2 separate regions of the Homo sapiens genome follow, and region 1 is linked to region 2. Evidence: promoter capture Hi-C in 16 types of primary human blood cells and fetal thymus (Javierre and others, 2016). All regions are on one chromosome and are shown on one strand. Each heading gives the region's core, a stretch centred on a gene start or on the middle of the fragment in contact. The rest is flanking DNA. Distances are from core to core; before and after follow the strand shown.

The links. Contacts are between HindIII fragments. The CHiCAGO score rates a contact against its expected background, and 5 or more counts as called.
Region 1: a contact is called between a fragment that was not itself captured here and the fragment with the promoter of RAB40A in region 2, in 1 of 17 cell types (activated CD4 T cells). The highest score is 5.0, in activated CD4 T cells.

Annotation. Positions count from the first base shown.
Region 1 is chrX:103,791,359-103,797,093 of GRCh38, forward strand. PLP1 (proteolipid protein 1) reads left to right here. Exons shown (of 7, transcript NM_000533.5): 7 at 1-1,261. It also overlaps a transcript of RAB9B not described here. Among named protein-coding and RNA genes, the nearest start is that of PLP1, 17 kb to the left of the region's middle. The HindIII fragment of the contact is 3,314 bases long and covers 938-4,251 here.
Region 2 is chrX:103,517,605-103,522,739 of GRCh38, forward strand. RAB40A (RAB40A, member RAS oncogene family) reads right to left here and starts at 1,885. Exons shown (of 3, transcript NM_080879.3): 1 at 1,766-1,885. It overlaps LL0XNC01-250H12.3 (a long non-coding RNA gene), which reads left to right. Exons shown (of 6, transcript NR_188440.1): 6 at 44-339. The HindIII fragment of the contact is 4,467 bases long and covers 960-5,135 here.

The sequences.
Region 1 (5,735 bases), core at 1,345-3,844, 270 kb after region 2:
CTTGATAACAGCTACCATGACAACCCTGTGGTTTCCAAGGAGCTGAGAATAGAAGGAAACTAGCTTACATGAGAACAGACTGGCCTGAGGAGCAGCAGTTGCTGGTGGCTAATGGTGTAACCTGAGATGGCCCTCTGGTAGACACAGGATAGATAACTCTTTGGATAGCATGTCTTTTTTTCTGTTAATTAGTTGTGTACTCTGGCCTCTGTCATATCTTCACAATGGTGCTCATTTCATGGGGTATTATCCATTCAGTCATCGTAGGTGATTTGAAGGTCTTGATTTGTTTTAGAATGATGCACATTTCATGTATTCCAGTTTGTTTATTACTTATTTGGGGTTGCATCAGAAATGTCTGGAGAATAATTCTTTGATTATGACTGTTTTTTAAACTAGGAAAATTGGACATTAAGCATCACAAATGATATTAAAAATTGGCTAGTTGAATCTATTGGGATTTTCTACAAGTATTCTGCCTTTGCAGAAACAGATTTGGTGAATTTGAATCTCAATTTGAGTAATCTGATCGTTCTTTCTAGCTAATGGAAAATGATTTTACTTAGCAATGTTATCTTGGTGTGTTAAGAGTTAGGTTTAACATAAAGGTTATTTTCTCCTGATATAGATCACATAACAGAATGCACCAGTCATCAGCTATTCAGTTGGTAAGCTTCCAGGAAAAAGGACAGGCAGAAAGAGTTTGAGACCTGAATAGCTCCCAGATTTCAGTCTTTTCCTGTTTTTGTTAACTTTGGGTTAAAAAAAAAAAAAGTCTGATTGGTTTTAATTGAAGGAAAGATTTGTACTACAGTTCTTTTGTTGTAAAGAGTTGTGTTGTTCTTTTCCCCCAAAGTGGTTTCAGCAATATTTAAGGAGATGTAAGAGCTTTACAAAAAGACACTTGATACTTGTTTTCAAACCAGTATACAAGATAAGCTTCCAGGCTGCATAGAAGGAGGAGAGGGAAAATGTTTTGTAAGAAACCAATCAAGATAAAGGACAGTGAAGTAATCCGTACCTTGTGTTTTGTTTTGATTTAATAACATAACAAATAACCAACCCTTCCCTGAAAACCTCACATGCATACATACACATATATACACACACAAAGAGAGTTAATCAACTGAAAGTGTTTCCTTCATTTCTGATATAGAATTGCAATTTTAACACACATAAAGGATAAACTTTTAGAAACTTATCTTACAAAGTGTATTTTATAAAATTAAAGAAAATAAAATTAAGAATGTTCTCAATCAAACATCGTGTCCTTTGAGTGAATTGTTCTATTTGACTTCACAATAGAAACTTAATAATCGTACCTTGTTCAAGGAGATCATTCATTTTTCAGCTCATCCAAGTCATTCTCATAACATTTCTCTGAAATAAATAGTATATGAATAGATTACTTCTACTTTTATAGTTGAAGACACTAAGAAATAGAAGCAAAGTAATTTGCCCAAAGAAATCCAGTAAGTACATGTCTGAGCTTGTGTTAAAACGCAGATATTGAAACCAATTTATTGCCTACTTAAAGGTTTCTTTTCTCTTCGAAGTTGGGTTTCAGAATGTTCAGAGTCAACTATGGTTACTTTTTCAATACCTTAGTGGTGCCCCAGTCCCCGGTGCATTTAGATTTAAGTTATTGTTACCTTCTCTTTAAATTGTTTGGATATTCCAGTAATGATCCCTTAGTAATTCATACGTGACTAATATTTAGTTTTATTTGGATAGTACTGGATGGAAGGTTTAGTACTTAAAGGACAGAGCAGGTATGGAAAGGGCAACGTAAATGTAAACAGGCTGTGGCAGGGCAGTACTAAAATAAATTAGTGACACCTACCACCCTGGATGGCCAGCCTACTAGCCCACCGGGGACATAGCATTAAAGCCCTTTCACAACCCTAGGTTAGAATTTGGCACCCTTGGACAGCACTCTGATGACCAGCTTAAAGAAAGCTGTCTTAAAATCATTTCATTGCCCCATAGTTGCAGCTGGCAAATGACTGGAGAGAAAGGAATCTTTAGCTGGAGGGATGACAAGTCAGTCATCAGTTAAGGAGCTCCATTCAAAAGCAGTTTCAATTTAATTTCCTGATTTCTGCTTAACCACAATTAATATTCTGCAAGCGAGTCTGGTTGAACGACTTTAAGACATAAAGAATAAAAATATGACAGGGACTTATTTTAAGACACTGCAAACAAGGACACAGCACCATATTTTGGAGAATTGATTCAGGGTTCTACAGAGTGATTGTATTTTTGCCTCAGAGGAACCGAAAGCCAGTTCCCAAGAAAGCTATGTTTTCCATCTGCCCTTATTTGGCTCTGCCTCTGGGATGAATCTATAGATGGAGTTTCTAGGCTCTCAGAAGCTGAGAGCATCTCCAGTCTATCAATTGAACCCATTGTTCTTAGCTCTCCCACACACCATAAACCTCCTTTTTTCTAACTGAAAGAGCTCTCTTTGTGCTGAGATCAGCCGAAGATCAAGATGCAGCAGTATAAACAAGAAACATTTTCTTACAGCACCAGTTGTATTGCTTTTCCTATCTTCAGGGTCAGTACTGAGTGCAGTTATGCAGGACGTGGAAGCTGCAGCTTTGTCCAGAGCAACATTTGTTCATTCCTTAATTCGTTCTGTGAACATTCATTGAGAAACTACTAAGTATTGTGTTAAACCCCAGGAAGTTCAAGTTTGGGGGCAGTGTGGGTAGAAAGGTGATCAAGACCAGATCTTACACTCAAGGATCTCTCTCAGATTCAGCCATAGCAGACAGGTCTTCCACGGTAAACTGGAGTGGAGGCAAGGAGTGTGCAAAAGGCAGTCTGATCGGCTGACTCCAGTGGGCATCTGAATTCTCCCCTCAGTATGTGGGAGGGGTGGGTGTTAAGGGCCTTGACTTCACGTGGCTCTGGGTTTTTAGGGCATGGATACAAACAAAACTTCAATTTAGAGTCCTGACAACTTGTGACTTGCTCTTTCTGTGTCACCCTGCTTCTTGCCTTACATGTGACAGCATTTATGCACACACTGGCTCAATGCATGTGCGTGCTTCCACCCACTCAATCATTTGGGGAGTCAGAGGGCACATGAATCAAGATTGATATAAACACAAGCTATTCAGTCTGGCCTTTTGTCTCTATCCAGGCTAAGTCTGAGAAGCCAAGGAAGGGTAATGTAAGATATAACATATCAAAACTGCACTTGTATCCCCTAAATTTATACAACAACAACAAAAAAGATACCAAGTCCTTCTCTGTTTGGATTTCCTTAACTGTGAACACAGGTAGTGTGGCTATTTTGACATTAACAGTTAACTTCATGAATATTAAGTAACAAATAAAAGAAATACTCATTATTATATTTACGAAATCAATACTTGGCCATTCCTACATCAATAAGCAGGTAAGGACTTCAAGTCAATATTTATATATTGGGAAAGATTTTCCTCGTTCACTCACTTGTTTGAAAGACGCAAACATACTCTTCATTATATTTGTTGTCCCACAAAGTTTGGTGTCTATGTGCTCCTGTTCTGAGACTCCTTGAATTGATTGACTTTATTCTAAAGGAAAATATCAGATAAGGTAATGAGTGTTTTACTGATTATGGATCAGTCCAAAGAAATCCAGTCTTAACATTTTACTCAAACTCTCAAAAAATATTTATTTGATAAATTATCTGTGCCAAGTATTATGCAAAGTGTTTGTGGTATAGCAGTTAATAAAAGAGATACAGTCTCAGCCCTCATGGAGCTCAACTAAAGACAGAAAGGGGTAGGCAGGGAGACAGGGAGCATGGTGAAGAATGAGGCTAACATCCTTCCACAGAAACAGTGGAAAAGATAGAATCAGGGAGAAACTTGCACAGTCCCATGAGAAACAAAGAGTCATGTTAAAAAAAAAAAAGATATAGACATGTAAGTCTGTATTTAGATAAATGCAATGGTATTTAAGATTGAAAAACATTAAATAGGCTTGGACTGTTTTGCCCCCCAATGTGGAAAGTCACCCAGCTCTAGGTTCCAAAGGAACTAGCTTCATGGATCTTCTATATATTATGTGAAACCCTATCTTTCAAGCATCAAAGGGGCAAAATACAAAGCTGATTCTGAGGGTTACAATATTAAAACCAAACAAGCCAACTGATATCTGAAAGTGTATAGATGGTTTTAATTCTAGTTGATGATGAATTCACATGTAGACCAACTTTAAAAAACAACAGGGAAATGTGGCTCTTGCAATCAAAGCTTCCTTCCATGTCCCCAACATGTACCAGATAGAAATTTGGTGAAATCTCATTTGACTTAAAATATTAAATCAGCCCACATTATCCAAAAAAAAGTGAAGAGAAACATAAAAATTATCCTATATGCAGATGATATTATCACAAGTGAACAGAAACACACAAATTATCCTATACGCAGATGATATTATCACAAGCTCAGAGTGGTCTTAGCAAACAAATGGCTCAGCTAATTACTGCTAGGAAGAAAGTATACATATCAGCTTTCCTAAAAAAAAAATTTGTCATTTTCAGTAGATGTTCCTACCTTCCTGTTGGTGAATAGTGTGAATAATTCCATAAAGCAGGTACCTCAGGATATATTCTGCAGCTGGCTTATCTGAAAGGACAAAAGTAAATTACATTTCTCAAAGCCAGGTAATATATGGGTGCTTATGGAATTTCTGCACATGTGTTGTTGTTTGTTTGTCTTTAATAGCTTAGCGGGTTACAACTACTTTAAAATATTTCCAGGTTAAAAAATTTTAAGTCATGCTTTATGCCCTATTTGTCTTGGTGTTAAAGAAGATTCAAAATAATTGTCTGGGCAGGGCATGGTGGCTCATGCCTGTAATCCCAGCACTTTGGGAGGCCAAAGAGGGCATATCACTTGAGCTTGAGGTCAGGAGTTCAAGACCAGTCTGGCCAACATTGCAAAACTAAAAATACAAAAATTAGCCAGGCGTGGTGGTTCAAGCCTATAATTCCAGCTACTCAGGAGGCTGAGGAACAAGAATGCTTGAGCCTGGGAGGCAGAGGTTGCAGTGTGCCGAGATTGTGCCACTGCACTCCAGTCTGGGCAACAGAGGGAGACCCTGTCTCAGAAATAATAATAATAATAATTGCCTGAAGATAAACTTGGCCCGGACTGTAAGCAGCCTTGCCTCCAACAATAATAGCTGCACTTTATCAAGCACTGTATCTGCAAAGTACTTTACACATCTCATTTTATCCTCACATCAGTCTTATGAGGCAGAAGCAACTATTATCCTTCAGTTCCATGCTGGAGCATGTGGCCTTGTTGGTCACATCAGTTTACACATGAGCATGTTAATCCTATCCTAGCTCAGCTGACTGGCAAAGCTGCAGAGATTAGCTGAATCCCGGTATTTGTCAGGGAGCAGAACCACTATCATTGTAGCTCAGTATAGTGAACAAAAGTTCTCTGAAAAGGGGCCACAAAGCGAGACACCGCCTCTACAAAAAAAAAAAAAAAAAAAAAAAAAAAAAAGTACTCCAGCATGGTACCTAGTGCCTGTAGTCCCAACTACTCTGGAGGCTGAGGTGGGAGTATAGCTGTAGCCCCAGAGGCTGCGGGTGCAGTGAGCTGTGATTGCACCATTACACTCCGTCCTGGGCAACAGAGCGAGACCCTGTCTTGAATAAAAAATAAAACAAACAAAATTATTAAAAATAAAAAGGAATTTAGAGGAAAGAGACCTTTTTT
Region 2 (5,135 bases), core at 635-3,134:
TATATTTCTAAATGCTCTCTGTTTCAAATCTTCTATTTCATAGGGCACAATTATTTTATCTTGGAACCAACAATCTTCGGAGAATGTATCCCAAAGATACAATTCAAAAAGATAAAAAGGCAGAAGCACAAGGTCATTCTTGGCAGAACAAATTGTAACAGCAGAAGACTGGAAATAAGACAGATGTCCACCAATAAAGGACTGACTGAATAATCTAAGGTGCATCTACATCCTAGATTTCAATGCCGGTATAACAAGCAAGGAAGATTCCCTCTCTCTGCTGCTATGTAGTGATTTCCAGGATATACCATTAAGTGAATAAAGCAAAGTGCAGAAAAATGTGTAGAGCTGCTGTTGTCCCATACCATACCCACTGGCCACTCATGGCTATTTAAGTTAACTAAATTTAAATGGAATTTTAAATTCACTTCCTCAGTCACACTCACCACATTTTAGGTGTTTAATAGTCACAGGTAGCTAGTGGCTACTATGTTGGACAGTTGAGACATAGAATATTTTCACCTTTGTAGAAATTCTATTGGACTCCACCAGTGTAGAATATGTCACCTTATATATATGGAATAGGAGAAAACTAATAGAAACATTCTATTTGCTTATATTTTTAAAATTGGAAAGTTTTAATGAAAATTGATTTAAAAAATCATTACCTATAAAGAGAAGGAAAAACAGCCCAGGACAGAAGCCAATAATGTCTTTTCCCTTAAAAATATAATATATATACACTGGCTCCATGCACTAGAAAGGTGAAGAAACATGATAGACCCAGTAGCAATGAGCAACTCTAGTGCCCATATTGAATCCACTTAAAACACATCACACTGAAAGGAACTAGGTTATCTTAGAGAAATGACTGAGTTTAGGTCTGTGTAGCCATTCTACTAGATGAATCTGGACCAAACTATCATGCCAGAGAGTGCGTCAAAAAGACTCAGAAGCCAAGCTTAAGGGGCTCTCGCTGGACAAAGATGAAGCAATTTGAACATTAAATAAAATAATGACTACTATGGATTAAAACACATTATAATATAAAAACTTCTACAGCTCATGATGACACTCTAAAAGAAAAATAAAATAAAACAAACAATATCAACTCATTGCTTGCCTTTGGAGAACCCTAGGGAAACAACTCATTGTTTTGAAAAGTGGAAATATTGCAAAAGAATTAGGCACTCATCCAACCCTTTCTATACATACTATCCCTCAGTGTAACCTAATGGTTTATGAAAGTTTATTTAATAGAATAATTCCAGCTAATAAAGCAGAGAAAATTATAGAATTAGAATATCATCCTTTTATGACCTTTAATGAATATAGAACTAAGCAACAATCCTTAGACGCTGCAGAAAAATCGAGGTGAAAAAGGGATGGGAAATTTTATAATGGATGGATCAGCTTAACAATACTTGAACATAGTAATTAATCTTAACATCACAAGAGGAGAGACAATTAGACACAATGAGCCCCCTGTGTAACACTATAGGAATAAACAATACCACATATGAAGTACTTCTGACCAAAACAAATCTAAATTGAATCAAGCCTCTGAATCTAACACCATTTTGTTAAATTTTTTTATTATACTTTTAAGTTCTGGGATACATGTGGAGAATGTACAGGTTTGTTACATAGGTATACACGTGCCATGGTGGTTTGCTGCACCCATCAACCCGTCATCTACATTAGTTATTTCTCCTAATGGTAATATAAAAAGAGAAAGAAATACTTGGAATTTGATTTGGAAAACCTTTCTCCTGTAGCCAGTCCACCTCCATGTGCTTGATACAGTTGACACTTCTTACCCTACAGGAGATTATTCAGCCTATCAGCCAATCTAGAAAATAAAATCATGAGGATCCATGTTTGGTGGTATAGGAACTATTAAGTTTATATTGGAACATTTTGCAAAACATGTTAAAATTAAGTTAAAATGAATGTGGCTCGAAATTAGGATTGTAAGATTTCGGATTTCAACTCAGTTTCCACAGAGAAGTTTGGTTGACCTAAATTTTAAATATGTTAGGAATAAGCCCCTGCTGCACATCATTATATTCAAAGTTCTCTGTAGCTTCATTTGTGAAAACAAATGGATGAATGGGTATATATTTGTAAAACATGTCTTTGGGATAAAAAGGCATTTTGAGTTCTTGGTTTTCAGGATGTTCCTTCTGGTATTCTTCAAATAAATGCTTCTATAGTATTATAAAGATAATTTCATTAACCTGCTAAAATGGGAATGTATTTGTCTATAGCTACAAGGTAAAAAGTGTTATGAATAATAATTTTAAGATGACAGATATTAAATAGTTCAAATATTATTGATAATAAGATTTTTTTAAAAAAGAAAATATATGTTCATCCAAAAGAATGAACATGAACATTCATAACACCATTATTCATGAGATGTCAAAAACTGGAAAATACACAAATCTCCATCACAGATAAATATAGTGTGAAATATCCAAATAATATAATACTTTACACCAATGAGAATAAGCAATCTACAATATAGACCACAATAAATATTAATTTCACATACATTATGTTGACTGAAAGAAGCAAGACACAAAAGAGCACATGCTGTATGATTCCAAGAATTTCTCTTCTAACCTCCCAATAGAGATTGGGGCAGGAGAGGAATATCAACAACTCATTTCCTTTTATTTCAAGGTACTTAGTGTCTTTTTATGTTATCTGTAGCTTAACCTCAGATAAGTGAAGCAACTTTCTTCTGAGCCCTTGAAAAGTGATTAATTACACATAAGATGAAAAGCTAATACTATATCTGATGGACAGGCAATGTGGTGTGAGAGATTCGGGCAAGAATCCTAAATGGATGCTCAGTCTGCACCAAATCACACCGCAGTCACTGAGTCACCATGGTAACCATTCTGGCCAAGGAAAGCTGAGAAAAAACAAACACCACTATCCCGAGCTTGTTCCTAATATGTACTAGGAACTAAATAGGATTGACATGATGCACAGTAATTAACCTCAAGTAGTCCTTACAATAAAAATTCCTGACAGCTTCAGTGACATACAAATGTATACATACTCACATACATATATGCTTGCTCACCCTCTCACCACTCCAAATTCCAAGAATTTATTGAGGTTGATTTACTGGTGGGTAAAGAAGTAAATCTCGCCAGGCATGGTGGCTCGTGGCTATAATCCCAGCTACTCAGATGGCTGAGGTAGGAGGATTGCTTGAGGTTAGGAGTGTGAGAGAAGTCTAAACAACATAGCAAAACTCTGTCTCTGAAAAATGTTTTTAAGTTTAGCTGAGCATGGGGGCACACACCTGTAGTCAGTTATTCAGGAGGCTGAGGTGAGAGGATTGCTTGAGCCTGGGAGTTCAAGGCTGCAGTGAGCTATGATTGCACCATTGCACTCCAGCCTGAGCCACACATTGCAACAAAATCATTTCTGACCACACATATAAAGTTGAAAGCTACTAAACTATGTTCTTTTGGTGTGATTTCTGAAGATGACCTGTAGAATTGTCTCTGGAACATTTTCCTCCATAGTTTCAATATATCGCCAATGACTTGTAAAAGCAGATACGGAAATACAGGTAAACACAGGTTAAGGATCAAATACCTTTTCCATCCTAGAGTAAGCTGTGCTTTCAACCAAAAAAATGCCTCACTGATGTTAAACACTTGGTTGCTGATAGTACTGTGAAAATATAGTAATTAGCAATTGTGTTTAACAAACAAAGCCATGTATAGCATCATCAAGAGTATGAAATATTTATGAACAATCTGTCCACAGATGTGCAGTGCCTGTACACTGAACACCACACATCATTGCTGAGAGAATTAAAGACCTAAATAAGTGGAGGACTTACCATGCTCATGGGTCACAAACAATACTGAGAAGATTCAGTATTGTTAAGATGTCAATTCTTCCAAAACTGATCTATAGATTCAGAGCAATTCAAATGGAAATCCTATTAAAAAATTTTTAAAGAAACCGACAGGCTGATTCTAACATTCATATGGACATGTAAAAGACCTAGACTCTATTAGTCTGTTCCCATATTGCTAAAAACAAACACATGAAACTGGGTGATTTATTTTAAAAAAGGGGTTTTCATGGCTTACGGTTCTGCAGGCTATATAGGAACCATAGAGGCATCTGCTTCTGGAGAGGCCTCAGGGAGCTTTAACTCATGGCGAAAGGTAAAGCGGAAGCAGGCGTTTTACATGGCAGGGAAGGTGCTACACACTTGTAAACAACCAGATCTTATGAGAATTCTATTATGAGAACAGAACCAAAGGGAGAAATCCACTCTCACGATCCAATCACCTCCCACCAGTCCTCATATCCAACATTGGGGATTACAATTTGACATGAGATTTGGGTAGGGACACAGTTCCAAACCATATCAACTATGAAGTACAACTTTGATAAAGAACAAAATTAGAAGACAAACACTACCTGATTTCAAGACTCCTTACAAACATACAGTAATCCAGACAGTGTGCTATTGGCATCAAGATGGATTAGTAGATCAAAGGAACAGAATAAAGAGTCCAGCTATAGACCCACAAGTATATGGACAACTGAGTTTGACAAAGATGCAATGGTGATTCAGTGGAGAAAGGATTATTGTTTCAACAAATGGTGCTGGGACAAGTGAATATTGACATGCACAAATATAAACTGTGACTCAGATATCACACTATATACAAAAGTCTATTCAAAATGGACCTGAGATCTAAATATAAAATTTGATGCTATAAAACTTCTAGCAGAAAAAAAAAAAACAGGAGAAAATCTTTTTGACAATGGGTCAGGTGAAGATTTCATAGATGAGACAACAAAACCACAATCTATAAGCAAAGAAATTGAAAAATTGGACTTCCTCAAAGTTAAAAACTTTAGCTTTCCAACTACATGGTTGAAAAAATAGACAAGTAAGCTGCTGACCGGGGTAAAATGTTTGAAAATTATATATTTAATAAAGGACTTGTATCCAGAATATGTTTAAAATCTTAGTAAGAAGAAAACACACACCAGTAAAGAAACAGGCAAAATATTTGAATAGACATTCCACTAAAGAAGACATACAAATATCATGTAAGCACAGGAAATGATGCTCAGCATCA